4 separate regions of the Homo sapiens genome follow, and all the other regions are linked to region 3. The links are contacts of gene promoters, found by promoter capture Hi-C in blood cells and fetal thymus (Javierre and others, 2016). All regions are on one chromosome and are shown on one strand. The core of a region is centred on a gene start or on the middle of the fragment in contact, and the rest is flanking DNA. Distances in the headings are between cores, read along the strand shown. Region 1 holds the start of ZBED4 (zinc finger BED-type containing 4). Region 2 overlaps BRD1 (bromodomain containing 1). Region 3 holds the start of PANX2 (pannexin 2). Region 4 holds the start of LOC124905149 (a long non-coding RNA gene).

Region 1 (6,941 bases), core at 3,908-6,407, 320 kb after region 3:
ACCATCATGCCCGGCTGATTTCTGTATGTTTTTGTAAAGATGGGGTTCTGCCATGCTGCCTAGACTGGTCTGGAACTCCTGAGCTCAAGTGATCCTCCCACCTCAGCCTCCTGAGTAGCTGGAACTCCAGGCGCATACCATCATGCCCGGCTGATTTCTGTATGTTTTTGTAAAGATGGGGTTCTGCCATGCTGCCTAGACTGGTCTGGAACTCCTGAGCTCAAGTGATCCTCCCATCTCAGCCTCCTGAGTAGCTGGAACTCCAGGCACATACCATCATGCCCAGCTGATTTCTGTATGTTTTTGTAAAGATGGGGTTCTGCCACGCTGCCTAGACTGGTCTGGAACTCCTGAGCTCAAGTGGTCTCCCCACCTCAGCCTCCCAAAGTGCTGAGATTACAGGTGTGAGCCACCACACCCCGCAAAACTACATAATTTTAATGAAAATTAAAATTAATTTTAACTATAATTCAAATTGACTGAACTCACAATGTTTTAAATACATATTTTCTAGCTGTGTCCGCGAACAGGGCATTAAGCAATAACAGACAAGCACAATGACTACGTCTATGGCCTGGACCTCGGTGTCCAGATGCCTTTCTGCACTAAAAGGAACCCAGGCGCTGTGGAGAAGCAGCTGACGCAGGCCTGGGAAAGACATCACCGTGAGCCTGGGACACTGGGCCAGAAAGGATGCATTCCCAGGACCACGTATGGAGTGAAAAGGACACAGGGGCCAGCTTGGAAGGGGCTCCCAACTAGTCACATTTATAGCTATTTGAGCATCACAAAACAAAAGGCTTTACTAGATTATGACATGGAATAAATAAAATCCACTAGTCCACCTTGATACTCAAGGAAGACAAAGGAAAAGTAAAAATTTGCCCCCACAGAGGTGTCTACTAGACCATCTTCCGCTAAGAATTGGTAATAAAGAGAAAGAACTCAGCATTTTCTAAGACGTAACAAAGAAGGGAAACACAGACAAAAATAAAGAAAAAAAGAACAACAGCATACTAAAGCCAAGGTGCCACTGCCCACAGGTTCTGGGGAGACCAGCAAACAGCATGTGGAGGTCTGATGGGAGCAGAGCGTCCACACACCCCGAGACACCCCCTCATCTAACTCGCCAACTGTGGGGGGCAGGGACACAATTTAAAGGGCCAGTGAGCAAAGTCGCATCCGTCCTCATGGGACAGCCTCCGCCCACAGTGCAGCACACAGCATCACCTGCGCCCCAAACGTGCCCCTGTATCAAATCAGGCCTCCCACCGCCAGATCACAGGGGGTGCTCCGGGGGCACCGGAACGCAAAGAGACCTCACAGCCACTGTGACACGTGGCCCTGTACTCGATTCTGGTTGGGAAAAACAGCTAGTAAAGACGTTGGGGGACAACTTCAGACCGTGGACTGGCTACTGGATGACGCCAAGGGACACAGTCACGTTTTGTAGACGCCATCGATGACGCGACTGTCATTAGACAGTAGAATGTCCCTTTCCCTTTCTTAGGAGAAAGAACACTTAGAGAAGTGTCCAGATATCTGCAGTTTCCTTCAAGACAGTTCAGCACGTGCCAGGTGGCAGCTGGTGGCAGTCACGGTAGCTCCAGCTGGGGGCAAGGGACGTAGGAGTGCCAACTCTGTAAGTTAGAAACTTTATAATAACCTTCAAACAACAGAAATATATTCGTGTTCAACTCAGAGCACACGCACTCTCAACAAGCTGTCGAGTATACCCAGGGAGGCAAAGAGCTATGCATCAAGACTCCGGGCCTGGTTCAGACGGGGACATGGCAGTTTCTCCTCCTGAGGACATAAACTACCATCGGGGCTACACCTGAGTAGCCTTCACCTATTCTGGGGGTGCACAGCAGCATCAACTGCCACAAATTCCAGCAGGAGCCATGGCTCACAACAGCTGCCCACACAGAAGCCAACATCCAGGTCTGGGCTAAACTGAGAAGGGGGCCGGGCACGGTGGCTCACGCCTGTAATCCCAGCCCTTTGGGAGGCAAAGGCGGGTGGATCACCTAAGGTCAGGAGTTTGAGACCAGCCTGGCCAACATGGTGACAGCCCATCTCTACTAAAAATACAAAAACTGGCTGGGCGCGGTGGCTCACGCCTGTAGTCCTGTCCTGGCACTTTGGGAGGCCAAGGTGGACGGATCACGAGATCAGGAGATCGAGACCACCCTGGCCAACATGGTGAAACCCCGTCTCTACTAAAAATGCAAAAAAAAATTAACCGGGCACGGTGGCGCACGCCTATTGTAATCCCAGCTACTCAGGAGACTGAGGAAGGAGAATCGCTTTAACCTGGGAGGTAGAGGTTGCAGGGAGCTGAGATTGTGCCATTGCACTCCAGCCTGGGTGACAGAGCAAGATTCCATCTCAAAAAACAAACAAAAATTAGCTGAGTGCGGTGGCGGGTGCCTGTAATTCCAGCTACTCAGGGAGCTAAGGCAGCAGAATCACTTGAATCCAGGAGACAGAGGTTGCAGTGAGCCGAGATTGTAACACTGCACTCCAGCCTGAGTGACAGAGTGAGAATAAACAAACAAACAAACAAACTGAGAAGGGGAACCCAAAGCTAAAGGTCAAAGACAGTGGCAAGGGGTCTGACTCCAGAAACCCGGAGTCAGAGCTGCTCTGTCAGACGTGCTCAGGAACCCAGGTAAGGGCGTCTTGGAAACGGCACCTTCCAGAGCAAGCCAGCGACCACGCTAAGGTCAGCTGGTCCGTGTTCCATCCCTGAAATGTTCTGGGTCACACGACAGGGTCATGTGGATTGTTCTGCTAGGTGGTTTTGTGGGTCCCCTGTATTTAACACCAGCACCCTCGCCGTGTACCCATACCTTGGGGGTCCGGGCAGTCCCACTAGTGACAGGCCTGACATCGCAGCTATGGCTGAACGCTGCTGGGGAGTCTCTCACTTACAGGATGTGGAGCATGGCTTCTATGACGGAGCAACCAGAGCTCTCCGAAATGCACATGCTCCCGACCCTGCTCCCTGCAGCAAACAGGTGGAGCAGAGACCACCAGGTGGGCCTCGATGAGGAGCAGCTTTGGAGGAAGTCAGCCCCTCAGGGTTTGTCTGTGGAGGTGGCAAGGCAGGAAGGGCGGGGGGCCAGGTCCTCCCGACCCTAATCAGGTAGGGGGCTGCAGCAGTCACAACCCCATCCCCAGGGCCAGGCCAGCATCAGCTGTTTCTATTGCACACAGAGTTTGCTGGGAAAGACATGGGCCATGGCTGCTGAAAAGCCTTCACCTAGAATGAGGTGGGAAGCTGGCTGGCATTGCAGCGCGGCCTTCACCTAGAACGAGGGGTGGGAAGCCGGCCGGGATTCCAGCGCGGCCTTCACCTAGAACGAGGGGTGGGAAGCCGGCCGGGATTCCAGCGCGGCCTTCACCTAGAACGAGAGGTGGGAAGCCGGCCGGGATTCCAGCGCGGCCTTCACCTAGAACGAGGGATGGGAAGCCGGCCGGGATTCCAGCGCGGCCTTCACCTAGAACGAGGGATGGGAAGCCGGCCGGGATTCCAGTGTGGGTCATTTAGGCTGCATGTCCCCTGAATTCCGAAACAACCCGGGGGAGCTGGGAGGCGGCTTCAGCAGCAGGCGCTTGGGCCGGGCAGGAGGTACGCACTGGGATGCCGTGAGGCTGCCTCTGCACCTCATGGACAATGCTCTCCTGGGGCTTCCGCCATCGCCCCCAGACCCTTCAGGGCAACCTCCTCTCCCTATGAGGTCTCCGGAGCATGCTTTCCTGAGAAACTGGGATTACCCCTGCTCTCACCTGCCGGTGTTTCTCCTTGAAGCACTTACTGAGCCTTTTTCTCTGGTTTACGCTGCTCCTCACCACCACCATGTTCCCTACGGCCAGGGCCTTCTTTGAAAACCACCATGGCCCCAGCAGGCAGAGAGGCAAGCACCTCTGTCTCTCCTGCTCCCCTCCGCCTCAGAAATGGCAAAGAGCTTATTTTATTCCTAACAATGCCTCCCAGAATTTGAACTACAAAAGCACATATCCAGTGATGACCAAGGAAGGGATCTGAGGTACTGCAGAATGTAGAAAAACCTAGGTGCTAAAAAGTGGGGAGCAGAAGGGCCTGGAAGGCTGGGATGCAGAGAGGCCCGAATCCTTGAAAGGGCTGAAGCCAGAGAGCTGCTGGAATCCACAGACACTAAAAGAGAAAGCCAAAACCAAACCGCTAAGGGGTGTCACGGGCTAAAGGCACAGTGACTTTCTTACACAGCCAAATGTAAATAAGAGCAATTCCTATAGGTACATTCTCAGGTCCTGAGATTTAAACAGTGAAGGAAACAACGTTGGTAAGGAAGGGCCAGCTTGGCCTCTACCCCAGGGCTGGGCAAAGCCACGCCCAGCTGTTTCACCTGCTCCCTCCTCTCAAAAGACAACCACCACACCAAAGAGAATGAGACCAGAAGCTAAAGCCAGGCAAAGAAAAAAACGCAAAACAAAGTGAAGGACGGCACTGACCACGGTCACTTCCTGCTCCTCATGCCGCCAGGAGTCCACTCCCCAGGGCTCCTCACCAAGGATCTGAGACACACACACACACACACCTTTCGCTAAAGAAGCTGCTTCTCAGCTCCTCTGCACACACACAGAAGTCAGTCCGCTCCCCTAGTAATTTTTTTAGTCTTTCTGCAAGGTGTTATGGACATACTTTGCACAGCTGAGTTACTCACTGTGTGTGTGGAGGGGGTTGGGGAGGAGGTAACCTTAAAGAGCAGAGGTTTTACATCCAACAACATCAACCACCTTATTCAGGAATTACCTGGACAAGAGTGTGTGTTGGGGGAGACCCTGTAACCACCTGTCAAGTGGACTAAAAGTCTTAGGTTTCTTTCCATATAGATTAACTGTGTCCTCACCTCAAAGACCGGGCCTCTGAAGCTTTTTCAAGATTCACAGAATCTCTCTTAACTTGTGCTAGATCTTTTCTTGAAAAAAAGCCAATCATGACAAGCAGATATAATCCGTTTAAGGACTACGGGAAGTGTGCAGCCTTGTACGGACGTCCCATTGGAAACCCTCGGAGTATGGAATCAAACTCCTGTAAACTTTCCTCTTGCAAAGTAACTTTGTTTAGTAATTGCAATTAATTCATAATCAAAATGTGGCTTATTCATAGCACTTAAAAAAAAATCCCAACCAAATCCTTCCTAGCCTCAATTTTGTCACTATGAATGACATACACAGAAAAAATAAAAAACATTTCTGTGTAAAAAGTCGCAGGATGCCCTTGCTTTACCAAACTGGCCTCACTATGAGGTCTGAATGGATTTCTAAAAACGTAATCTGATCAGAGTTAACTTCAAAATAAATAACTTCCCTTTCGACCAACACGAGAACACCAACAGAAGCTTCTGACGGCTCAGCTTGGCCGGGACGTGTTTCCACAGAGGTGCCCGGGTCTACCAGGGCCACCCGGAATAGAAAGGCGCAGAAGGGAGCCCGAGGGGCTGCGATTCTCTTAGCAACGAAGGCGGTGTGGGCCACACAACGGGACAAAAGAAGAAACAAAACTGACTGCGAGCTCATTTGGGTGTAGGAAAACCACTGCAGTCGAAAAACATTTGAAATTATGGTTCGCAAGGCAAGTTACATTTTTATTCATTAAATGTGAACGGTCATCCCCAGAACCACGTACAATAACCTGCCTCGGGGCGCGTCGCAAGGACCCGTCTGGGCTGAGACATGAAGCAGGGCCCAGGTGGCCCTTCCTGGAGGTGGGACGGGAATGACACGTCCAGAGAAGTCCCAGGGACGGGGCTCGCGGGGTTAACTCGACGTGGCCGGGACAGCGCGCTCCCGGCGGACCCGGGCGGCGCCCCGAGCCCGAGCCCCGTCCCGTCCGCCCGGAAGCAACGGCGCGGGCACGTGGGCCAGGCCGGGCGCCGACCCCCGGCACTCGGCCGCTCAGTCGGCGCCGCCCCCGCGCCAGCTGTCAGGGCCGGGGTCCGCGCGGGGGCGGGTCCGGGGCGGCGCCGGGCGGGGACCCCGAGGCCACGGAACCGCGCCCCCGCCCGCCTGGCCCCGGCCCTGGCCCCGGCGCGGCGCAGACAATGGCGCGGCCCGGCCCGGCCCCGGCGCGGTCCGCGGGGGACGGGGCTCGCGGCAGGCGGCGGGGCGGCGGCGCCCGCGCACTCACCTCGGCCCGGCCTCTGGGGCGGCTCCCGGCCGGCTGCGGACGACGGCGGCGCGGGCGGACGCTCCATTCATTACCGCGGCTTTGTCTGCCCCCGCGCCCCTCCCGCGGCCCCGCCGCCCGCCGCCCGCGACGCCGCCGGACGCTGCGCCCCTCCCAGGGCCCCGCGCGGCGCGGGGCGGGGCTGGCCGGGGGCGGGGCCGATCGGGGGCGGGGCCTACTCTCGCAGGCGCAGTGTCCGCGTACCCGCCCCGCCTCGTCCCTGGCCGGGCGGGAGGACGGAGCGCCGGAGGCCCGGCCGCTGGGGCGGGGTCGGGCGGAAGACGCAGGCGCAATGCGCGCTTCGGCTCCGCCCCCGGGTCCAGGAGGGCAAACTACGCAGGCGCAGTGGGCGCTCCGGCGCTGGCGGGCGACGGGAAGGGCTTAGGCGCTCTGGCTGGGCGGGGCGCGGGCGCCTTGGTTTCGTCCCGTGGCTTGGCAGTTGGCAGCGGCTCGGCGCGCACCCAACGGCCCACCGCGGGTTTCCGGGACGGCTAGCAGCGCGGTTCCCGGTCCCGCCCCGAACCCCCTTACCTGGCGCAGAGGCCGCTCAGTGCGGTGCGGTCAGGCCTCGTGGGCTGGGACCTAAGCCGTTGACCCTAAGGCGATCGGGGCTCCCCGCGCGGCCCCCCCGGGGGACGGGATTAACGCCTAAGCCCCAAGCCGGGTCGGCGGGAGGAGGGCGGCCCTCTGGGCGAGCGCGGGGCCGGGGCTGGCGGTGCGGAGC
Region 2 (6,743 bases), core at 3,525-6,024, 350 kb after region 3:
CAAGCAGCGAGGGGTTCCTGGGGGTCACCCCTCGCTGTGGAGCCTGAGTGGAGCGTCTGCCTTCACGTGTGCCGGGGAGAACAGAGATTCCCTTTGGCGTCATGCATGTGTCTGGATTCTCTCAGAAAGGAGGAGGACGTGGAAGGAGGAGGACGTGGCCAGCACCATGGTCTCAGTGGGGCTTGAGGAGTGCCCCTGAGGGGAAGGGGCAGGTTGGCTCAGCCTGTGGTGGTTTCCATGGTGGTCACTGCCAAGGCTCTGCAGAAGCGGGGTTGGGGCCTCCCAGGGGCCAAGACTGTCCCCTCAGACCAGTACAGGGCTCCCCTGTTGGTCCCCTGTGCCGTGTTGTGCGTGTGGAGGGCCTGTCTATAGAGGATGGACAGGCTGTGATCTGTCTCCTACCCCTGGCCCCAGCAGGAATGCTGCAAGGACTGTGGTGACTCTGGGCTCATGGGAGTGCTCTCCTGGGAGTAGTGGGGAGGGGAAGAGTGGTTTAGGGGGAGCATCCGATAGGACCAGGTAGCCACTGAGCATGCCTGTCTGGTGGGCATAGCCTCTGTGCCTGGTGGGGTCCAGCCCTGTATGTGGACTTCCTGGGGGACCGCCTGCATGCTGGGAAAGTCCTGCAACTGTGGGCTCTGGGCCGGACCCCTCCTCCTTGGGGAGCGTTGCTGTGGTCTCCGCAGCCTGTTGGTGTGGTCTGAGAGGGGACTGGTGTGTGGTGGTAGGGACGCAGGTGCTCAGGAGGGCTCCTCAGGCTGCCTCTCTGCCTGTTACTGCTGCTCCCTCCCTGGTCCTGGGGACTCGCTCAGGCCTGGATGTGTGGTTTTGGACACCTTGGAAAGAGGTTAGCTGTGAGTTTTGCTTTGATTGGGCTTTGAGCTGCTGAGCTAGATCTGTCCAAGCATGCTTTTGTGGTTTTCTCGAGTCTTTGGTCACCCTGCGTAGAATTACCTTTACTTTTGCCTTCATTTTAGGTAATCATTACCAAATGAGGAGGAAAGGACGATGTCATCGAGGCTCTGCAGCGAGGCATCCTTCTTCCCCATGCAGTGTTAAACACTCCCCTACGCGAGAAACGCTGACCTACGCTCAAGCTCAAAGGATGGTAGAGATAGAAATTGAAGGGCGCTTGCACAGGATCAGTATTTTTGATCCCCTGGAGATCATATTGGAAGATGACCTCACTGCTCAAGAGATGAGTGAGTGCAACAGCAACAAGGAAAACAGCGAGCGGCCTCCTGTCTGCTTAAGAACTAAGCGTCACAAAAACAACAGAGTCAAAAAGAAAAACGAGGCCCTCCCCAGCGCCCACGGCACGCCGGCCTCGGCCAGTGCCCTCCCGGAGCCCAAGGTGCGCATCGTGGAGTACAGCCCTCCGTCCGCCCCCAGGAGGCCTCCTGTGTACTACAAGTTCATCGAGAAGTCGGCCGAGGAACTGGACAACGAGGTGGAGTATGACATGGACGAGGAGGACTATGCCTGGCTGGAGATCGTCAATGAGAAGCGCAAGGGCGACTGCGTCCCCGCCGTGTCGCAGAGCATGTTTGAGTTCCTGATGGACCGCTTCGAGAAGGAGTCGCACTGCGAGAACCAGAAGCAGGGCGAGCAGCAGTCTCTGATCGACGAGGACGCCGTGTGCTGCATCTGCATGGACGGGGAGTGTCAGAACAGCAACGTGATCCTCTTCTGCGACATGTGCAACCTGGCCGTGCACCAGGAGTGCTACGGGGTGCCCTACATCCCCGAGGGCCAGTGGCTCTGCCGCCACTGCCTGCAGTCGCGGGCCCGGCCCGCCGACTGTGTGCTGTGCCCCAACAAGGGTGGTGCCTTCAAAAAGACAGATGACGACCGCTGGGGTCACGTGGTGTGTGCCCTGTGGATCCCAGAGGTCGGCTTTGCCAACACGGTGTTCATCGAGCCCATCGATGGGGTGAGGAACATCCCTCCAGCCCGGTGGAAACTGACATGCTACCTCTGTAAGCAGAAGGGCGTGGGTGCCTGCATCCAGTGCCACAAAGCAAACTGCTACACAGCATTCCATGTGACGTGTGCCCAGAAGGCTGGCCTGTACATGAAAATGGAGCCCGTGAAGGAACTGACTGGCGGTGGCACCACCTTCTCCGTCAGAAAGACCGCTTACTGTGATGTCCACACGCCTCCAGGCTGCACCCGGAGGCCTCTGAATATTTACGGGGATGTCGAAATGAAAAATGGCGTCTGTCGAAAAGAGAGCTCGGTTAAAACGGTCAGGTCCACATCCAAGGTCAGGAAGAAGGCAAAAAAGGCTAAGAAAGCTCTGGCTGAGCCCTGCGCGGTCCTGCCGACCGTGTGCGCTCCTTATATTCCCCCGCAGAGGTAAGCGTGTCCAAGCATTGAGTCCACAAGGAGCCTGCAGTGTGGGACCCTGGGAGGACGTGGGCACAGCCTGCAGGGCCCGTGCTGTGTGGTCATTGCGTTTCTAGTTGGCGCAGCTTCCTAATATTCCCCTGAAGTGTGGTTCTGCTTGTTTACCACGTCTTTTTGGGGAATAGATGTTGTAAAAGATTTTAGTCTGTAGGCTTGGAATAATCTGTAGTTTTCTATGTTTTTTTTTTTGGAGACGGAGTTTTACTCTGTCGCCCAGGCTGGAGTATAGTGGCGCAATCTCAGCTCACTGCAACCCCCGCCTCCTGGGTTCAAGCAATTCTCCTGCCTCAGACTCCTGAGTAGCTGGGACTGCAGGCGTGCGCCACCATGCCCGACAAATTTTTGTATTTTTTAAGTAGAGACGGGGTTTCACCATGTTGGCTAGGCTGGTCTCAAACGCCTGACCTCAAGTGATCTGCCCGCCTTGGCTTCCCAAAGTGCTGGAATTACAGCACTTGCTCAGCCTTTTTTTTTTTTAAATAGGGTTTTGCTCTGTTGCCCAGGCTGGAGTGTAGTGGCACGATTTCAGCTCTCTGCAACCTCTGCTGCCAGGTTCCAGCAATTCTTGTGTCTCAGCCTCCTGAGTAGCTGGGACTACAGGCGTGTGCTCCCATGCCCAGCTAATTTTGTATTTTTAGTAGAGGCGGGGTTTCACCATGTTGCCCAGGGTGGTCTGGAACTCCTGAGCTCAGGCAGTCTGCCTGCCTCTGCATCCCAAAGTGCTAGGACTATAGGCGTGAGCCACCATGCCCAGCCGTGCGTGAAGATTTTTAAGAATTTCAGTGACTAAACTTTAAGAAGGAATGAAGCCCACGCAGGAACTCTGTATGACTTTCAACCCGAGGGGCTCTGGCCTGGGCTTCCCAGTGACTGCCGGCATCGGGACATCCACTGCTGTGGCCTTGGCCCCGTTTCCCGTGCTGTGCCCCCCACTTGCTGCAGATGCCCTGAGGAAAGGGTGGCCAAACAAGGGGAGGAGCTGTGAGCACAGATGGGGCCTGCCGGTCAACAGGGCGGGTAGAGCCAGCCTGGTGCTGAGCTTGCAGCTTGGCTGGGGGAGACGCCTAGAGCCCCAGTACCACACAGACCCTCCAGGACTGCCGGGGGTCAGTGAGCAGGACCCTCTGAGGTGTCAGACCTGCCCCACATGTGAGGGGAGGACAGCACAGGTGGGACGCATGCAGGCTGAGCTGCATCGGGCGGTGAGGCTGGGAGGTTGCAGTGAGCTAAGATTGTGCTACTGTACCGCAGCCTGCGTGACAGAGTGAAACTGTGTCTCAAAAAAAAAAAAAGAAGTTTTAAGTGATTTTTGTTAATATTACTCTACTTTACCAAAGTGAAGTCCAGTTTCTTTTCACAGAGCTGTAAATACTCAGATAATTAGTCAATTCAGACAGAATGAACAAAAAATGCTCATAATCCTTCCCATCCAGGGAAAACCCTGTCAAAACCAAGGTGTTTGTCTTTGTAAATTAATCTGACTTTGAAGAGATGGTTTTGCTTGGATTTCTACCTATGAGTCAAAAAGTCTAGGGTTTGTATTAAGAGCTTCTGTATAAGAGGTCTAAAAATTTCAGCTTTACTGAAATTGAAGCAAAATAAACAAAATGTGATCTAACAAAATGAAGAGCCAAAAGTCTGAAGTGCTCCCTTCCCTGGCCAGTACCAGATGATGACCTGCTCTGGGAGAGGCCGGGCCTGGCCGGGCCGCACGCTCTCTGTTCTTTGGCTCCTGATGTTGGGTAGGCAGGACTGAAGGAGGCAGTGTTTGCATGCAGGACATGGGGGCTGAAGTGGCCAGGGCTGATTGAGAAGAAAACTCGACCTAAATATTTGAAAGCATGTATTGGAGCTAAACCGCGTACTGTGTGGTTCTGTTCTTTTCCTAACTTGGGAATAAACTATTATTTCAGCTTCGAGTAGAGAGAGAGAAACAAACCTGGACGAGTGTTCCTGGCCGCGGTCTCTGCAGTCTGGGTTTCCCAGTCTCCAGGAGATGCTGGTGCTTCAGGCCACCTTGCCACCAGTGGAGGAGCTCCCAGTGCGCCTGGCCTGTTGGCACCATGGTGCTGGACCCACCTCTGGGGTGGTTGTGAGGGGCAGGCTCTCAATACAGTACTGACTGCTGCCTGAAACCGGGTTTACTGCCTTGCTGTGGTCTGAGAGGCAGCTGATCTGGCAGCCCTGTTCTTAGGCCCTGGGCACTACCCCTGGGTGCATGTAGGAGGCCTCAGCTGTGCATTTGAATTCTGTGTAGATGAGGGTGAAGCTTCTTATTTTTTATTTTATGTTTAGAGACAGGGTCTTGTTCTGTTGCCCACGTTGGAGTGCAGTGGCGTGATCATGGCTTACAGTAGCCTCAAACTCTTGGACTCAAGCGATCTTCCCGCCTCAGCCTCCTCCCAGCCTCAGCTGGGAATACAGGCACGAGCCACTGTGCCTGGCCCATGGTGAAGCTTCTTGATGTGCAGCCGTGGGCGGGGATGCTGAGTCTAGTTGGTTATGGTGTGCACTAACCAATGGCTCCGGTGTAGGACCCACCTAGAGCATCTGAGGATGTTATGCTTCAGGCCAGCCAGTCACGCTGGAAGGGAGATGAGACCCCATCTGAGCAGCGTTTTAGAGATTTTAGAGAAAGAGGATCTTCCTTATTCCCTGTGGACAGAACAGAATCTGCCTTCAGGGACGGACTGCTTTTATAATTCTAGTGGTTTAAAAAATTAAAATTTCAAGTAAAAAAGATAGTTCTTTTTTTTCCCCCCTTTTTTTTGAGGTGGAGTCTTGCTTTGTTGCCCAGGCTGCAGTGCAGTGCGGTGATCTTGGCTCACTGCAACCTCCACCTCCTGGGTTCAAGTGATTCTCCTGCCTCAGCCTCCTGAGTAGCTAGGATTACAGGCACCTGCCACCACACCCGGCCGATTTTTGTATTTTTAGTAGAGACGGGGTTTCACCATGTTGGCCAGGCTGGTCTTGAACTGCTGACCTCAGGTGATCCACCCGCCTCGAACTCCCAAAGTGCTGGGATTACAGGCGTGAGCCACTGCGCCAGGCTAAAAGAGATAGTTTTAAGGTTATAATCTGTTTTTTTGTAAGTTTGATATACTATGATTAAATAATAACAGCGGTAAATAAACACTTTGAAAAACAGGCAGGGCTGGGTGTGTGGCTCACACCTGTAATGCCAGCACTTTGGGAGGCCGAGGTGGGTAGATCACGAGGTCAGGAGTTCGAGACCAGCCTGGCTAACATGGTGAAAACCCATCTGTACTAAAAATATAAAAATTAGCCAGGCGTGGTGGTGCGCGCCTGTAATCCCAGCTATTCAGGAGGCTGAGGCAGGAGAATCTCCTGAACAGAGTCCTGCTCTTCTGCTCAGACGGGTGCAGTGGCATGGTTATGGCTCACTACAGCCTCGACCTCCTGGGCTCAAGCGACTCCCCCACCTCAGCCTCTTGAGTAGCTGGGACCACAGGCATGTGCCACCATGCCCTGCTAATGTTTTTATTTTTTGGTGAGATGGGGTCAAGCAATCTGCCTGCCTCGGCCTCCCAAAGTGCTGAGATTACAGGCGTGAGCCACCATGCCTGGCCTTACATTGATTTATTGTTATTTTTTCTTTTCTGTTCTTCTTTTTTTTCCTGAGATGAAGCCTCGCTCTGTTGCCCAGGCTGGAGTGCAATGGCATAATCTCGGCTCACTGCAGCCTCCACCTCCCAGGTTCAAGCGATCCTCGTTCCTCAGCCTCCCGAGTAGCTGGGACTACAGGTGTGTGCCACGGTGTCTGGCTAATTTTTGTATTTTTTTTGTAGAGATGGGGTTTCACCATGTTGTCCAGGATGGTCTCAAACTCGTGACTTCAGGTGATCTGCCTGCCTTGGCCTCCCAGAGTGCTGAGATTACAGGCGTGAACCACCGCACCCAGCCCTATTTTTTCTTTTCACTTCCTCTCTCCAGCATACATCAGTTTTTATTAACGGATTGAGTTGCACCTGTATAGAATGACATTTTTTTTTTGAGACGGAGTCTTGCTCTGTCACCTAGGCTGGAGCGCAGTGGCACGATCTCGGCTCACTACAAGCTCCACCTCCCGGGTTCACGCCATTCTCCTGCCTCAGCCTCCTGAGTAGCTGGGACCACAGGCGCCCACCACCACACCTGCTAATTTTTTGTATTTTTAGTAGAGACGGGGTTTCACCATGTTAGCCAGGATGGTCTTGATTTCCTGACCTCGTGATCCATCTGCCTCTGCCTCCCAAAGTGCTAGGATTAGAGGCGTGAGCCACCGAGCCCGGCCAGGAGGACATTTTGTCTTTAGTCTTAAAGGAAAAGGGAAA
Region 3 (6,263 bases), core at 3,473-5,972:
AGCCAGAGAAGAGCGTCCACCCTGGGGAAGAGAACAGGGACAGGTTTGTGTCCCGTCCTGAGCTGGGCCCATCCCTGGCAGCCACCCTTGCTGGGCATGTGTGGCCAACATGGGTGGGGAGAGGCCCCAGAACCCTGGACCCAGACTCCAGTAGGGCCGCAGGGAGATGGGAAGGAGGGCTCCTTGGCTCTGGGGCAGGGGGCGGCCTGGCCTCCTCCAAGGTGGATGAAAGCAGGGGCCCCACACCGAGCCACGTGTCTGGCGAGCTGCCCCCACTGTGCGGAGCCCCACTTGGACCCGAACTCCTCATGCCTGTCACTGTCTCCCTGCCGGATGGCGGCAGCAAGGGGAAGCCAAGTCCTGCTTGCCACTCCGACCTCAGTTTCCTCATCTGCTCCACCAAGGATACTGCCTTGACTCACTGCAGGTGACCGGCCCGGCCCTTTGGGGGCCCCAAGGCATGTCCAGCAAGGCTTCCCTCCTCCCTGGACCCGCTGCACCTGCAGGGTACAGGGTGCTCCTGGCAGCCTCAGCAGGTCCTGACGGACTCAAAGCTGTGCTGGCAGCCGGGCCTTTCCCGGTGGATGCTGCCACAGCTTCTAGCAGGGGCTGCCAGGGCCGGGGGTGCTGGCCTGACTCGGGGTGGGGCAGCAGAGAGGGGCTGCTGAGCCCAAATCCACGGGCCCATCCCACACGCAGCGACTGCTACGGGTCCTCTGTCCGAGGCCCTCCTCTGGGACTTCCCAGGGACAGTGGGACCCTGCCTGGGCCAGTGCAGGTGTCCAAACGGAAGGCAGGAAGGCCTGGCCCATCCAACAGGGCAGACAGAGCCGCCGCCAGGGGCCCGTTTCTTGGAAGACATTGCTGTGTGGATCCTGGCCATGCCAGCTATGCCCCGAGAGGACACTGGCTTCCCAGCCAAGGAGCCTGTCCACACCCAGCCCTCAGAGCCCCAGTGACAATATCAGAGTTGGCAGCCAGGGGCCTGGTGCTGCTTGGAGCACCTCTGAGCGGGTGTCTGAATACACCCCAACACGGCCCATATTCCCATATTCAGAATGCCGTCCCCAGGACCCGAGGCTAAAGCCCAGCCCCCCCGGCCCTCCCCCAGTCCTGCCCTTCTTCGGTTCTGCCATCCCCAAGCTCATCTCCAGCCCACCCCTGCGATCTGGCCTGCACATGGCCCCAAGGTGCCCCCCAAGGGTGAAGCTGGGTCCCTCCCAACAGCCCTTTCCACCCCTGTCCTCCCACCTGGGGAGTGGGGACACCTCTCCAGGACACCCCTGGCTCTGCGCAGCCTCCTCCTGCCTGCTGGCCAAACCCTGTCTGGTCACCCCAGACCACTGCCACATCCTGGAAGCCCTCAGCCGAGGCCAGGCCCTGGCCCTTCCCCGACTCCCCTGGCCTTACAGACCTCCACATGGGGTCTGCAGTGAGCAGAATCATGGCCCCCAAAGATGCCACATCCCAACCCCGGAGCCTGTGGCGGTGTCACGTTTCCCGGTTCACGAGGACTTTGCAGACATGCCTAGGCTGGGGGTCTTGGTGGGCAGCAATTGCAGGGTTCTTCTAAGAGGGTCAGAGTCAGGGAGGAGATGTGAGGACAGAAGTGGGGCTGGGAGAGAGAACGCCACGCAGCCGGCTCTGAGGACGCAGGAAGGGCTGCAAGGCCAGGAATGTGGAGGCCTCTGGAGGCCGGAGAAGGCAGAAAGTGGGTTCCCCCTTGGAGCCAGCCCTGCTGACACCTTCGTTTTAGCCCCATGAGACTCGCATCTGGCTTCTGACTTGTAGGTTTGTTCCAGCAGCCACAGGAAGCTAATCCTGGCGGTGGCTGCGCACCTGCTACATTCTCCACTCTCTGCAGGCTGAGGGGGGCCGAGACCCTTCCCCAGCCCACCTTGGAGACCCTGGGACTTGGCCCCCAACCTTCGAGGGTACTGCATCCTGAGACAGCAGCTGGCCACACGGGCCCTCAGGCCCAACCCTGCCCTGCGGCATCAGGGGCTGCGCTCGGCCCTCCAAGGATGATGAAGCCAAAAAGAGGAACCAGCCCATAGGCTCCTGGGAGGGTGCTCGGGGGCAGAGCGCTCGCTTCCTTTCCGCTTTAAAGAAGAAAGTTGGGCCGGGTGCGGTGGCTCATGCCTGTAATCCCAGCAATTTGGGAGGCCGAGGCGGGCGGATCACCTGAGATCAGGAGATCGAGACCAGCCTGGCCAACATGGCAAAACCCCGTCTCTACTAAAAATACAAAAAATGGGTCAGGCACGGTGGCTCAACGCCTGTAATCCCAGCACTTTGGGAGGCCAAGGTGGGCGGATCACGAGGTCAGGAGATCGAGACCATCCTGGCCAACATGGCAAAACCCCGTCTCTACTAAAAATACAAAAAATTAGCCGGGCATGGTGGCGGGCGCCTGTAGTCCCAGCTACTTGGGAGGCTGAGGCAGGAGAATGGTGTGAACCCAGGAGGCGAAGCTTGCAGTGAGCAGAGATCGCGCCACTATACTCCAGCCTGGGTGACAGAGCGAGACTCTGTCTCAAAAAAAAAAAAAAAAAAATGAGCCAGGCGTGGTGGCGGGTGCCTGTAGTCCCAGCTACTTGGGAAGCTGAAGCAGGAGAATCGCTTGAACCCGGGAGGCAAAGGTCGCAGTGAGCCGACATCGCACCACTGCACTCCAGCCTGGGTGACAGAGCGAGACTTTGTCTCAAAAAATAAAAATAAAAAAAGCGGGGGGGTGGTGAAGAAGAGAAAAGGGCACAGTGGCTCACGCCTGTAGTCCCAGCACTTTGGGAAGCTGAGATGGGAGGATCACTTGAGCCCAGGAGTTTGAGACCAGCCTGGGGAACATGGCACAAAAATTAGCTGGGTGTGGTGTGGGATGCCTGTGGTCCCTGCTACTGGGGGCTCGGGGCTGAGGCAGGAAGAACACCTGAGCCCGAGAGGTGGAGGTTGCAGATCGCACCACCGCACTCCAGCCTGGGCGACATACCAAGACTCTGTCTCAAAAAAAAAGGAAATTTGGACACAGACAGGGAGGGAAGAAGCCCATGAGAAGACAGAGGCAGAGACTGGTGGCACGGCCACGAGCCAAGGCGCCCAAGGATTGCCGGCAGCACCAGAGGCTGAAGAGGCTGGAATGTCCCTTTCCTAGAGCTGTGGGAGGGAGCAGGGCCCTGCCGACACCTCGATTTTGGACTTTTGGCCTCCGGAACCATGAGAGATAAATGTCTGCTGTTTGAAACTGCCTAGTTTGCGGTACTTGGTTGCTACAAACACAGAGAACACACGTGGTGTCTGGACATGCTGGGCCTGCCCCAAGGCCCCACCGCACGCCTGGGCTCCCTGCTCTGCAGAGTGTGCTGTGTGCCCACCCCAGGGGTCCTCTAATCCCCGGGGTCTGGCCTCCAGTGTCGAAGAGGAGACCAGCAGAGGCCTCCTCCACCCCTGGGTGGGATCAGACAGCCTGGCCAATGTCCACCCTCAGGCCTGGTGTCTCCAGGCCACGGGGACTCCTTAAGGCAAGGCATCTGGGAGATTTGGGAAGCGCCAGTGCTGAGGCAGGGTCTGCTGAGGTTTGGAGGCTGCAGAAGAGAGGGCCCCAGGGTCCCAACACCCCTCCCCGCTGCAGACTAGTACCTCTGGGCCACACAGGCCAGGAGACCCTGATCCCCCTTGCCTTGGCCCAGACCCCAGGGGAGGAAGTTCTCGGCTCCACCTGTCTCGCCCCACTCCTTGGGGAGGGCAGAGGCACCAGGACCCCACCCCGCAGAGGCTCACAGGCAGGCTGGCTGCTCTGTCCATCTTCCTGCCTCGCCTGGGTGGCTTCAAGTGCCCCCACAGGTCCTGATCTAACCAGCGCGGGTCCCTGCCCTGGTCCAGCCCCCATCTCCCTGCAGGAGCTCCAGGCTCCCTGCTCTGACACGTGGCCCTGCCCCATGCTAGCCCCCCTGCTTCAAACCTTCGGAGGCCCCCAGTGCACCCGGAGAGGCCTCGCCCTGCCTGAGGGGTGGAGGGCCTGGGCCTCTCAGAGACTCTCTCTGCCCTCCTTCCACCCAAGTCCAGCCTGGGAACCCTGCCCGGCAGCTCCACCAGCCCCTGTAATCAGCTCTCTGCTGTCAACACCCATCCCGGCCTTTCCTGGTCCCCACCTGGCCACCCTGCATCCCCTCAGGCGCTGCTTGTGACATTCTCCAAACCAGACCCCGTGTCTCATGACATTTGGGACCCCTGGGTCCAGACAGGCCTAGTCCCACCCGCGGCCATGGGCGGACGAATGGAAGGAAGAACAACAATAAAATAGAGACGAGGGGTCTGTGCGACCAGCGACACCTGCTAGGATGGGGGCGGCTGTGGAAGGTGCCTGGGACGCCGCGGACGCAGCCAGGCCACGGTGGGCGCGGCTGGACGGAGCCGCCGGGGACGCGGGAAGCGCCAGCTCCCGGACACCTGCGGACGCCCCCTCTGCCCGCGCCCCGCGCCCCGGCCGCCGGCCTCACCTGCGAAGTTCTTGGTGAAGACCAGGGTGACCAGCAGGATGGGCACCAGCACGGTGCCGATGGTGACCACCCGGTCGAACGGCAGCTCCAGCTTCAGCTGCAGAAGCAGCGCGGCCAGCGCGCCCGCCTTGTCGTCCTGCGCGCCCGGCAGGATCAGCTCCCGCAGCTTCTCTCCCGCCAGCAGCGCGGTCGCCATGTCCGCCGACTGCTCCAGGAGGTGGTGCATGGGGGGCGGGGGGCGCGGCCCGGCGGGGGGCGCGGGCGGGGCGGGGGGCGCGGGGCGGGGCCCGGCGAGGGGGGCGCGGGCGGGAGGGGACGCGCGGCGCGGGGGCGGGGATCGGGGAGCGTGGGGGCGCGGGACGGGGACGGGGCCGCGGGCCGCGGGAGAGGGTGGCAGGGGACGCCGGGACCGAGCGGGGGGCTCCGGGGGATGGGAGTAGCCGGAGGCGCGCGGCGGGTGCGGGGCTGGCCGGGCGCGGAGCCCGCAGCGGGGTTTGGGGGGCGCTCCGCCGCCGCCCCCGGGGTCAGGGGGCGGGCGGGCCGGGCCGGGGCGGCGGCGGGGGGCACCGGAGCCGCCCGCCTCCGCCGCAGCCCGGCCCCCGCCCTGGCGCGTGCCTCCGGCGGGGGCGGCGGCGGGATCCCGGCCCGGAGCGCGGGCGGCGGCTGCTGTCCCTGCCTGGGGCCGGCGGCCCCGCTCCCGCCGCGGGGAGGGGGCTGTTTACCTGCGGCGACTCCGCGGCGTGGCTCCGCCCCACCCCGCCCCCCGCCACGCAGATGCGGCGCGGGCGATGACTTTGCAGAAAATATTGAAATGAAATGAAAGGACATGAATGAGTAATGACCGGTCCCTCTTCCTGGGAACGCGGGGTGGCTGGCGGGGGGCTGCCCCGGCCCGCGGGAGGGTGGGCAGGGGTGGGGGCGGCCCTGCGGGGCTCCGGGCTGGGGCGGGGGCGCCGCTCGGTGGCGACGTGAGGACTGGGCGCGCGCTGGGGCTGCCCCCGTCGCATCGCAGGGCCCTTCGCCCAGCCCAGGGCGCAGAGGGGGCTTCCTCGCCTGGGCCCCCCACCTGCCCCGGCCGCGCCCCGCTGTGGGTCCGGAGGTTCCCGCGCTCCTGGGGTGCTGCGGCCACTGGCGGGGAAGCCGGCGCTCTCTTCTCTGGGCTCGGGCGCCAGTGCGCGGGCAATGAGGGCATCTCCCCGCCCCACACCCTCCACTGCAGCCCCGGCCCCACCCGACCCCCCCACCCAGTACCCCCAGTCCCGCCGCCGTGAGTGACCCCATCACCCCCGCTCCTGCAGCCCGCACCTCCTTCCCCCACGCCCCATCCCGTCCCCTGTTCCACAGACGTTCCCGGGGCCTGTGCCAGCTCAGGGGGTCCCCGCCGCCTCCCTGACCTTCATTCCCTCCGCTCCCCACAGCCCCGCCCTCCGTCCTGTTCTCCCTCGGGGAGCCGGGGGTCTGGCTTCAGACGCGGGCGCATCCCGCGTGGTCCCTGCCTCTTCGAGGCAGCCGTTTTCCCTCGTGCAGGTCCCCTTCCCACTATACCAGGACGAACGTGCACGATCTTTCATATAAAAGATTTAGTGTGATTGGAGTTTTAAGTTCATTCAATAATTCATTCCAAAAATGTATTTTGAGCCCGTGTTCACAGGCCCGGCCACTGCTGTGAGCAAACCAGGAGGTCCCCCTGCCTCCCTGGGCTGCGTAGGGGATGTGTCTGCTTTGAGCTTTCACGCCGTCTGCGTTTTTAAAGATCCTTGCATGTTT
Region 4 (6,913 bases), core at 1,867-4,366, 460 kb before region 3:
TCATACCTGTAATCCCTGCACTTTGGGAGACCAAGGCAGGAGGGCTGCTTGAGCTCAGGAGTTCGAGATGAGCCTGGGTGGCACAGCAAGATCCTGTCTCCAAAATAATAAATAAATAAATAAAGACAGCATGAGGCAAACTCTCTACTCCTCCTTTTTTTTTGTGAGACAGAGTCTCACTCTTGTTGCCCAGGCTGGAGTGCAGTGGCACAATCTCAGCTCACTGCAACCTCCGCCTCCCGGGTTCAAGCGATTCTCCTGCCTCGGCCTCCTGAGTAGCTGGGACTACAGGCAGGCGCCACCACGCCTGGCTAATTTTTGTATTTTTAGTAGAGATGGGGTTTCACCATCTTGGCCAGGCTAGTCTCAAACGCCTGACCTCAGGTGATCCACCCACCTCGGCCTCCCAAAGTGCTGGGATTACAGGTGTGAACCACCGTACCGGGCCTACTCCTCCTTTTCTTGTAGTTTACTCAAAAGGTAAACAAAAATCTTTTACTGTCTCTTATTAATACTACATGAAAATCTTACTCAAAAATGAAAACTAAATTCTACCTTTACATTAGCATATTATTAATACTAAAGCTAATTTTAATAAAAACTTAAAAACAGATCCATTCAATCTCAATCAGCTTTGACCACATAAGATTTCCATAAACCTTTAATAACCTCTTAAAATTTGTTCCATTCTTTGTTTCTCAAACTTTCTATATATATTCAGTTTTATCTATCATTTTTTTATTCCTTTAATTTAAAACAACCTTTAAAAACATCAAAACTAGACAAAATTACTTTTCCTTTAACAAAAACCTCATTCTCATGCCTTCTTTATAACCTTCCTTACCAAAAACACATCCTACTTTCTTATAAACTTTGCATACAGAAGTGTTTCTCTTATATCTAGTAGTTTTAAATACATATATTAATTACAATGTTAACTCTTAGGAAGCCTAATTTTCAGTGAAAAACATGGGAAGTAAGCAATTTTAATTGTTATTAAAGATGCAAAGCCCAGGACAAAGGACAGAGCTTTAAAGACTGATATGGTTTGGCTGTGTCCCCACCCAAATCTCATCTTGAACTGTAGTTCCCAAAATCCACAGGTGTTGTGGGAGGGACCCAGTGGGAGGTGATTAGATGAAGGGGGCGGTTCCCCCACGCTGTTTTTGTGCTAGTGAGTTCTCACGAGGTCTCATGGTTTCATGAGGTGCTTCCCCACTCTTCGCTCTGCACACCTCCTTCCTGACCTCATGTGAAGAACGTGTTTGCTTCCTCTTCCGCCATGATTGTAAGTTTCCTGAGGCTTCCCAGCCACGCTGAACTGTGAGTCAATTAAACCTCTTTCCTTTACAAATCACCCAGTCTCAGGTATGTCTTTATTAGCAGTGTGAGAATGGGCTACTACAAAGACAATGCCTGGAGGACTCAACCCCTCCCAGCATGACCGGGGGGCACAGCTGGGCCAGGGAGGACAATGCTCGGGCACTGCAGACACACAGCATGACCGGGGGGCACAGCTGGGCAAGAGAGGACAATGCTCGGGCACTGCAGACACACAGCATGGCTGGGGCGCACAGCTGGGCTAGGGAGGACGGGGCTCAGGCACTGCAGACACACAGTATGGCCGGGGGGCACAGCTGGGCTAGGGAGGACGGGGCTCGGGCACTGCAGACAAACAGCATGACCGGGGGGTACAGCTGGGCCAGGGAGGATGGGGCTTAGGTACTGCGGACACACAGATGTCTCCAGGCCACATCATGTCCACTTGTCTTGACCCCAGAATGTAGAGGCTCAAAGCCAAAGACCTAAGTTCACAGACAAATTAAGCAAGTATCAGAAATATGACAGAAGCAAATTTTATGACCTTAAAGCATCTAACAGAGACTGTCTGAACCTGTCCGACCAATGGGCCCAAGCAAAGATGTCTCAATTATATTTAAGACTGACGACTTTGAAGATATTCTAATTTTAGCATCATTTTTTTTTTTGAGATGGAGTCTCACTCTGTCACCCAGGCTAGAGTGCAGTAGTGCAGTCTCGGCTCACTGCAACCTCTACCTCCCAGGTTCAAGTGATTCTCCTGCCTCAGCCTCCTGAGTAGCTAGGACTACAGGCGCATGCCACCACGCCTGGCTAATTTTTGTATTTTTAGTAGAGACGGGGTTTCACCATGTTGGCCAGGATGGTCTCGATCTCTTGACCTCGTGATTTGCCCGCCTCAGCCTCCCAAAGTGCTGGGATTACAGGTGTGAGCCACTGCACCCAGCAGCAACAATTTTAAAACTAAGTTTATTTGCCAAAGATTACTAGTCACATGAACTAGAAAAGCATCTGGGTTTAGTTACATCATTCATGAGCACTTATTTATTTATACGTCAATTTGCTACTATGTACATAATATACAAACAGGCATGTACACATAAAAATACAGACACAAATCAAGATTTTATAGCTTTAGTTTTAAGATTTTAGCCACGAATCGGGTAAAAATCACTAGTTTAAAAGGATACTTAAAATTGTGCCTCTGTAAATGGAACAAGGTAAAATTTATCTGTCTCACACGGCCAAAGCCCTTACCAAGTTTTAGAGAAAACAAGGCAACAAATTTACATCTTGAAGCACAGAGAAAAAAAAATTATTTTTATTTACTGAATTTTTTCAAGACGGAGTCTTGCTCTGTCGCCCAGGTTGGAGTGCAACGGCACGATCTTGACTCACTGCAACCTCTGCCTCCTTGGTTCAAGCAATTCCACAGGGAGAAAGTTTAAGCTTTGATTTAGTATGTTAAAGGAAGATTTTAAATGGATGCTGAGGTAACAAAAAGTCATAGAAATTCACCACAGGATTTTATAAGGACAACAATGTTATTTAAATATGTGGCTATTAATTTATTCTCCATTTTTGAACTAGACCACTGGGCTCAGGACAGAGCTCATTAATGAACATGGCCAAAAAAGCATTTGCAGTTTGGAGGACCTAATATTTAAATATGTGAAAAACAGGTGCAGCTGGAAGGCAGAGCATCTAGATCTTTTAAAATCAAGGATCCCACATTTACACTGAATGCTGAGTTCCCTCTAAAAAGAGATATATATGAGACAAAGCCATACAGTGTTTCCACAGTGTACCTCACTATGAAGACATTCCCCTGAGGCTGGTGGGAGACCCACAGCAATCAGCCCACGGAGTCTCAGCCTTTGACGCCAAGTGCTTCCATAGTCTCCAAGTGTTCAGATTGTGCCTTTCTCATCTAAACATGCAGAGAAACAAGCAGCCACTGCAGGAACAACCATTCACTACAACTGCTTTCAGCCACCTCCAAAACTGTGAGGCAGCCCTCGCCAGTGACCTGCCGGCCATCACACACACTCAGGTCATGCACTGTCTCACAGTGCAACGTAATCCCTGGTACCCCCAAAGCCAAAGAGATCCAGTGACACAGTGCCAAAGACAGCCAAGCTTTAGACCCGAGAGGAAGCTACCCACGACTCCTCAGGCCCCATAAGGAAGACAAAAGCGGGGCGCGTGGCACCTTTCTTTGCGTTCCCCAAGGGGTCTCTAAGTCATCAGAAGTCCCTTGTAGATCCCTTCATTAGGTACCAAAGATGGCAAAGGGGATGGAGGAGCACGGAGGGGTAGAAGTAAATGGGACTGCAATCCTTAGAGGAGCCAATTTGGAAAAATGTTAAGGTTCTAAAAGGCCAATACAATTTTACATTTTTCTCATCAAAATTATACCAACAAAGGAACCAAACAGAAGGACCAAACACACAATTTAAAGGGGTTTCAGTCACCTGAAAAAAAAATTCCCAGAAACAGGGTCCAAAAGCAGAAAAGGCTGTAGATACATGGCTTGAAGATCAGCTCACCTGTTTTTAATTAAGCCAACTTCTGACCACAGAGCTCTTTTTTAAAATCCTTTCAAATATCTTATTATCAGATTTTAGCTGAGACCAACAGCTGATAGCCATGGCTTTGAGACCTTTTTTTTTAAAACCAAAGGTACCTCCCAAGTGACTCACCAAAACCAATAAGCCTTAACTAAAGCTATGGACTTAACCAAGGACACATAAGCCATCTCCAAAGAGGCGCAAAGCAGTCCTGATGACATCCAGAGCCACCCCAAAGAGCTCAAAGAAAGGAAATCAAAAGCTGCCAGTGGAGGGGGAAAGGGTCAACAACAAATGAGTTCCGCACAAAGTCAAAAGTTGGCTGGGTGCGTGGCTCACGCTGGTAATCCCAGCACTTTGGGAGGCCGAGGCAGCCGGATCACAAGGTCAGGAGTTCGAGACCAGCCTGGCCAACACGGTGAAACCCCATGTCTACTAAAAATACAAAAAAAAAAAAGAAAAAAAAAGAAAATTAGCTGGGCGTGGTGGCTCACACCTGTAATCCCAGCACTCTGGGAGGCCAAGGCGGGAGGATCACGAGGTCAGGAGTTCGAGACCAGCCTGGCCAACATGGTGAAACCCCATCTCTACTAAAAATACACACACACAAAAAAATCAGCCGGGCGTGGTGGCTCACACCTGTAATCCCAGCTACTCCAGAGGCTGAGGCAGGAGAATTGCTTAAACCCAGGAGGCAGAGGGTGCAGTGAGCCAAGATCATGCCACTGCACTCCAGCCTGGGCGACAGAGCAAGACTCCGTCTCCAAAAAAAAAACAAAAGAAAGAATTCAAAAGTCACACAAATATCAAACCAAAAGGGACTGGTTCCTCTATTGGGAATTGAACCCAGGCCATGGTAGTGAAAGTACAGAATTTTAAGTAGTTTCCAAGATGCAGCAGTCTTCATTGTGAATCCTGCAGGGATCCAAAGCAATGGTTTGCGCGCACAAAGGATTTTAACTTGTTACAGGTCAGATTTTTGCTCTTTAATTTTGTGAAGAGGATTTCTAAGGCTAGCCACAACATTATTATGTGTCTTTCCTTTAATCTCCCCACAAATACAAATAAGGCAATTGTTTAGAATGAGAGACCTCTAAAATCTTTTTTTTTTTTTAATTTAGGGATCTTTCTAATGTAAAGGATTCATCTTTTGGCTATTGACAATCAGAATTTCCAATGATGTATTTATTCCAATAGCAACTCAATCCAAGAAGCCCCTTCATGGAAAGCCCAAAAGATTATTTTCCAGGTTTAGAGAGGGCATAGAAGAGGAGGTTCCAATGATGCCCCCAAAATTCACTCCCAGGAATAGGCAAAGACAGCAAAAGACTCTTGTTCCCAGAGACAGTTAAGGAACGTGTTTGTACATACAGTGCCTCCAGTAACACACAATCTGTCAGGGGCTGCCAGTCACAGACCCATTAACCTGTAACACAGGGTAGGCCTGTTGGGATTGGGCTTTCTGAGGACTGACCAGGCAACAAACATTGGGATGACAAAAGCCCCTTATGGATGGGCCTGAGGAGAGCAAAAACCACCTGGCGACCATCAAACATCAAACAGGCCCTCCGAGGCAAAACTCCTTATCTGGGGAAAATCAAAAGTAACTAAACCTCCCTATTATCTAAAGCAGGCATCTGGTTCCAGATTTCTTCCCCCAAAAAACGTGTAAGTAACTATAATTTCTATGTGTCTCCAGAATACCATGACGAAACTCACTGTACAACCGTCGCTGACATTAAGGCACCAAAATTACTATAAATGTAATCATTTATCATGACTTACGTGGCTAATATGGTCCAAATTACTGTTAAGCCTCCACTTTAAGGCCTATAAATGCCCTTAAGGAGAAATCCACCCGGCGTACTCAGTCCTCTTGCTGAGGCACCTCATTGCACTCTTCTGCAGCATTCTAATAAACTTTCTTTCTTTTCTTTTTTTTTCTTTTTTTTTTTTTTGAGATGGAGTTTCACTCTTGTTGCCCAGGCTGGAGTGCAATGGTATGATCTCAGCTCACCACAACCTCCATCTCCCAGGTTCAAGCGATTCTCCTGCCTCAGCCTCCCAAGTAGCTGGGAATACAGGCTCCCGACACCATGCCCAGCTAATTTTTTGTATTTTTAGTAGAGATGGGGTTTCATCATGTTGGCCAGGCTGGTCTTGAACTCCTGCCCTCAGGTGATCCACCTGCCTCAGCATCCCAAAGTGCTGGGATTACAGGCGTGAGCCACCGTGCCCGGCAAACTTTCTTTTTTCTTTTTTTTTTTGAGACAGTCTTGCTCTGTCTCAGCTCACTGCAACCTCCGCCTCCCAGGTTCAAGCAATTCTCCTGCCTCAGCCTTCCAAGTAGCTGGGATTACAGCCACGCACCACCACACCTGGCTAAGTTTTATACTTTCAGTAGAGACAGGGTTTCTCCATGTTGGCCAGGCTGGTCTCAAACTCCTGACCTCAGGTGATCCACCCACCTTGGACTTCCAAAGTGCTGAGAGTACAAGCATGAGCCACTATGCCCGGCCAAACTTTCCTTTTTCAAACCTATTGTCGGTAAACTCTTTTTACCAACCCGCAAGTTGACCACCACTCCCAGTGCCGGGGCTCTGACAGCTCGCCTGGCAGGGACTTCTTAAGACAAACTAAAAGCTTGACACATTCAGAACAAAAACGGTGCTGCTTAAAATATTAAATGTCTTGGGTTCCCAACCATTTTCAGACTGACCACAAAATGTGACCTGCGAGTCACTACCTCGGATTGGCAGAGGCCAAGAGAGTGCTCCTGAGGTAGGAGGTGGGACTTAGTTGACCCAGTTGAGGATTGGCTAAAACAGGGTTGGGGCAATAGCAGCTTTCAGTCAGATATGCCCGCCACTGTGCCATGTCAGTTTACCATTGCCATGGCAACACCCAGGAGTTGCCACCCCTTTCCATGGCAATGACCCAATGATGACTACTCCTTCCCTAGAAACTTCTGCATAAACCATCCTTTAATCTACATGCAATCAAAAGTGCGTATAAATGTGACT

Evidence for each region. The method cuts DNA at HindIII sites, captures the fragments that hold promoters and counts their contacts. A CHiCAGO score of 5 or more calls a contact.
Region 1: a fragment that was not itself captured here is called in contact with the fragment with the promoter of PANX2 in region 3 in 1 of 17 cell types (total B cells); the score reaches 5.3 in total B cells.
Region 2: a contact is called between a fragment that was not itself captured here and the fragment with the promoter of PANX2 in region 3, in 2 of 17 cell types (total B cells and naive B cells). The highest score is 7.8, in total B cells.
Region 4: a contact is called between a fragment that was not itself captured here and the fragment with the promoter of PANX2 in region 3, in 4 of 17 cell types (naive B cells, activated CD4 T cells, neutrophils and 1 more). The highest score is 6.3, in naive B cells.

The regions. Positions count from the first base shown.
Region 1 is chr22:49,853,227-49,860,167 of GRCh38, reverse strand. It overlaps ZBED4 (zinc finger BED-type containing 4), which reads right to left and starts at 6,324. Exons shown (of 2, transcript NM_014838.3): 1 at 6,179-6,324. It overlaps LOC124905147 (a long non-coding RNA gene), which reads left to right and starts at 2,512. Exons shown (of 2, transcript XR_007068156.1): 1 at 2,512-2,674; 2 at 4,882-5,666. It overlaps LOC105377205 (a long non-coding RNA gene), which reads left to right and starts at 6,656. Exons shown (of 5, transcript NR_188597.1): 1 at 6,656-6,941. It also overlaps a transcript of ALG12 not described here. RefSeq lists enhancers at 691-1,228, 2,831-3,491 and silencers at 5,677-5,966, 6,137-6,866, 6,887-6,941. The HindIII fragment of the contact is 470 bases long and covers 4,923-5,392 here.
Region 2 is chr22:49,818,566-49,825,308 of GRCh38, reverse strand. BRD1 (bromodomain containing 1) reads left to right here. Exons shown (of 13, transcript NM_001304808.3): 2 at 978-2,358. The coding sequence starts at 992. It also overlaps the pseudogene LOC100420885. Among named protein-coding and RNA genes, the nearest start is that of BRD1, 5.9 kb to the left of the region's middle. RefSeq lists an enhancer at 181-760. The HindIII fragment of the contact is 187 bases long and covers 4,681-4,867 here.
Region 3 is chr22:50,169,190-50,175,452 of GRCh38, reverse strand. It overlaps PANX2 (pannexin 2), which reads right to left and starts at 4,722. Exons shown (of 3, transcript NM_052839.4): 1 at 4,497-4,722. The coding sequence starts at 4,722. RefSeq lists an enhancer at 3,197-3,889 and a silencer at 5,489-5,548. The HindIII fragment of the contact is 7,666 bases long and covers 2,477-6,263 here.
Region 4 is chr22:50,630,435-50,637,347 of GRCh38, reverse strand. It overlaps LOC124905149 (a long non-coding RNA gene), which reads right to left and starts at 5,854. Exons shown (of 2, transcript XR_007068161.1): 1 at 2,650-5,854; 2 at 1,342-1,805. RefSeq lists enhancers at 1,055-1,569, 1,570-2,086. The HindIII fragment of the contact is 690 bases long and covers 2,772-3,461 here.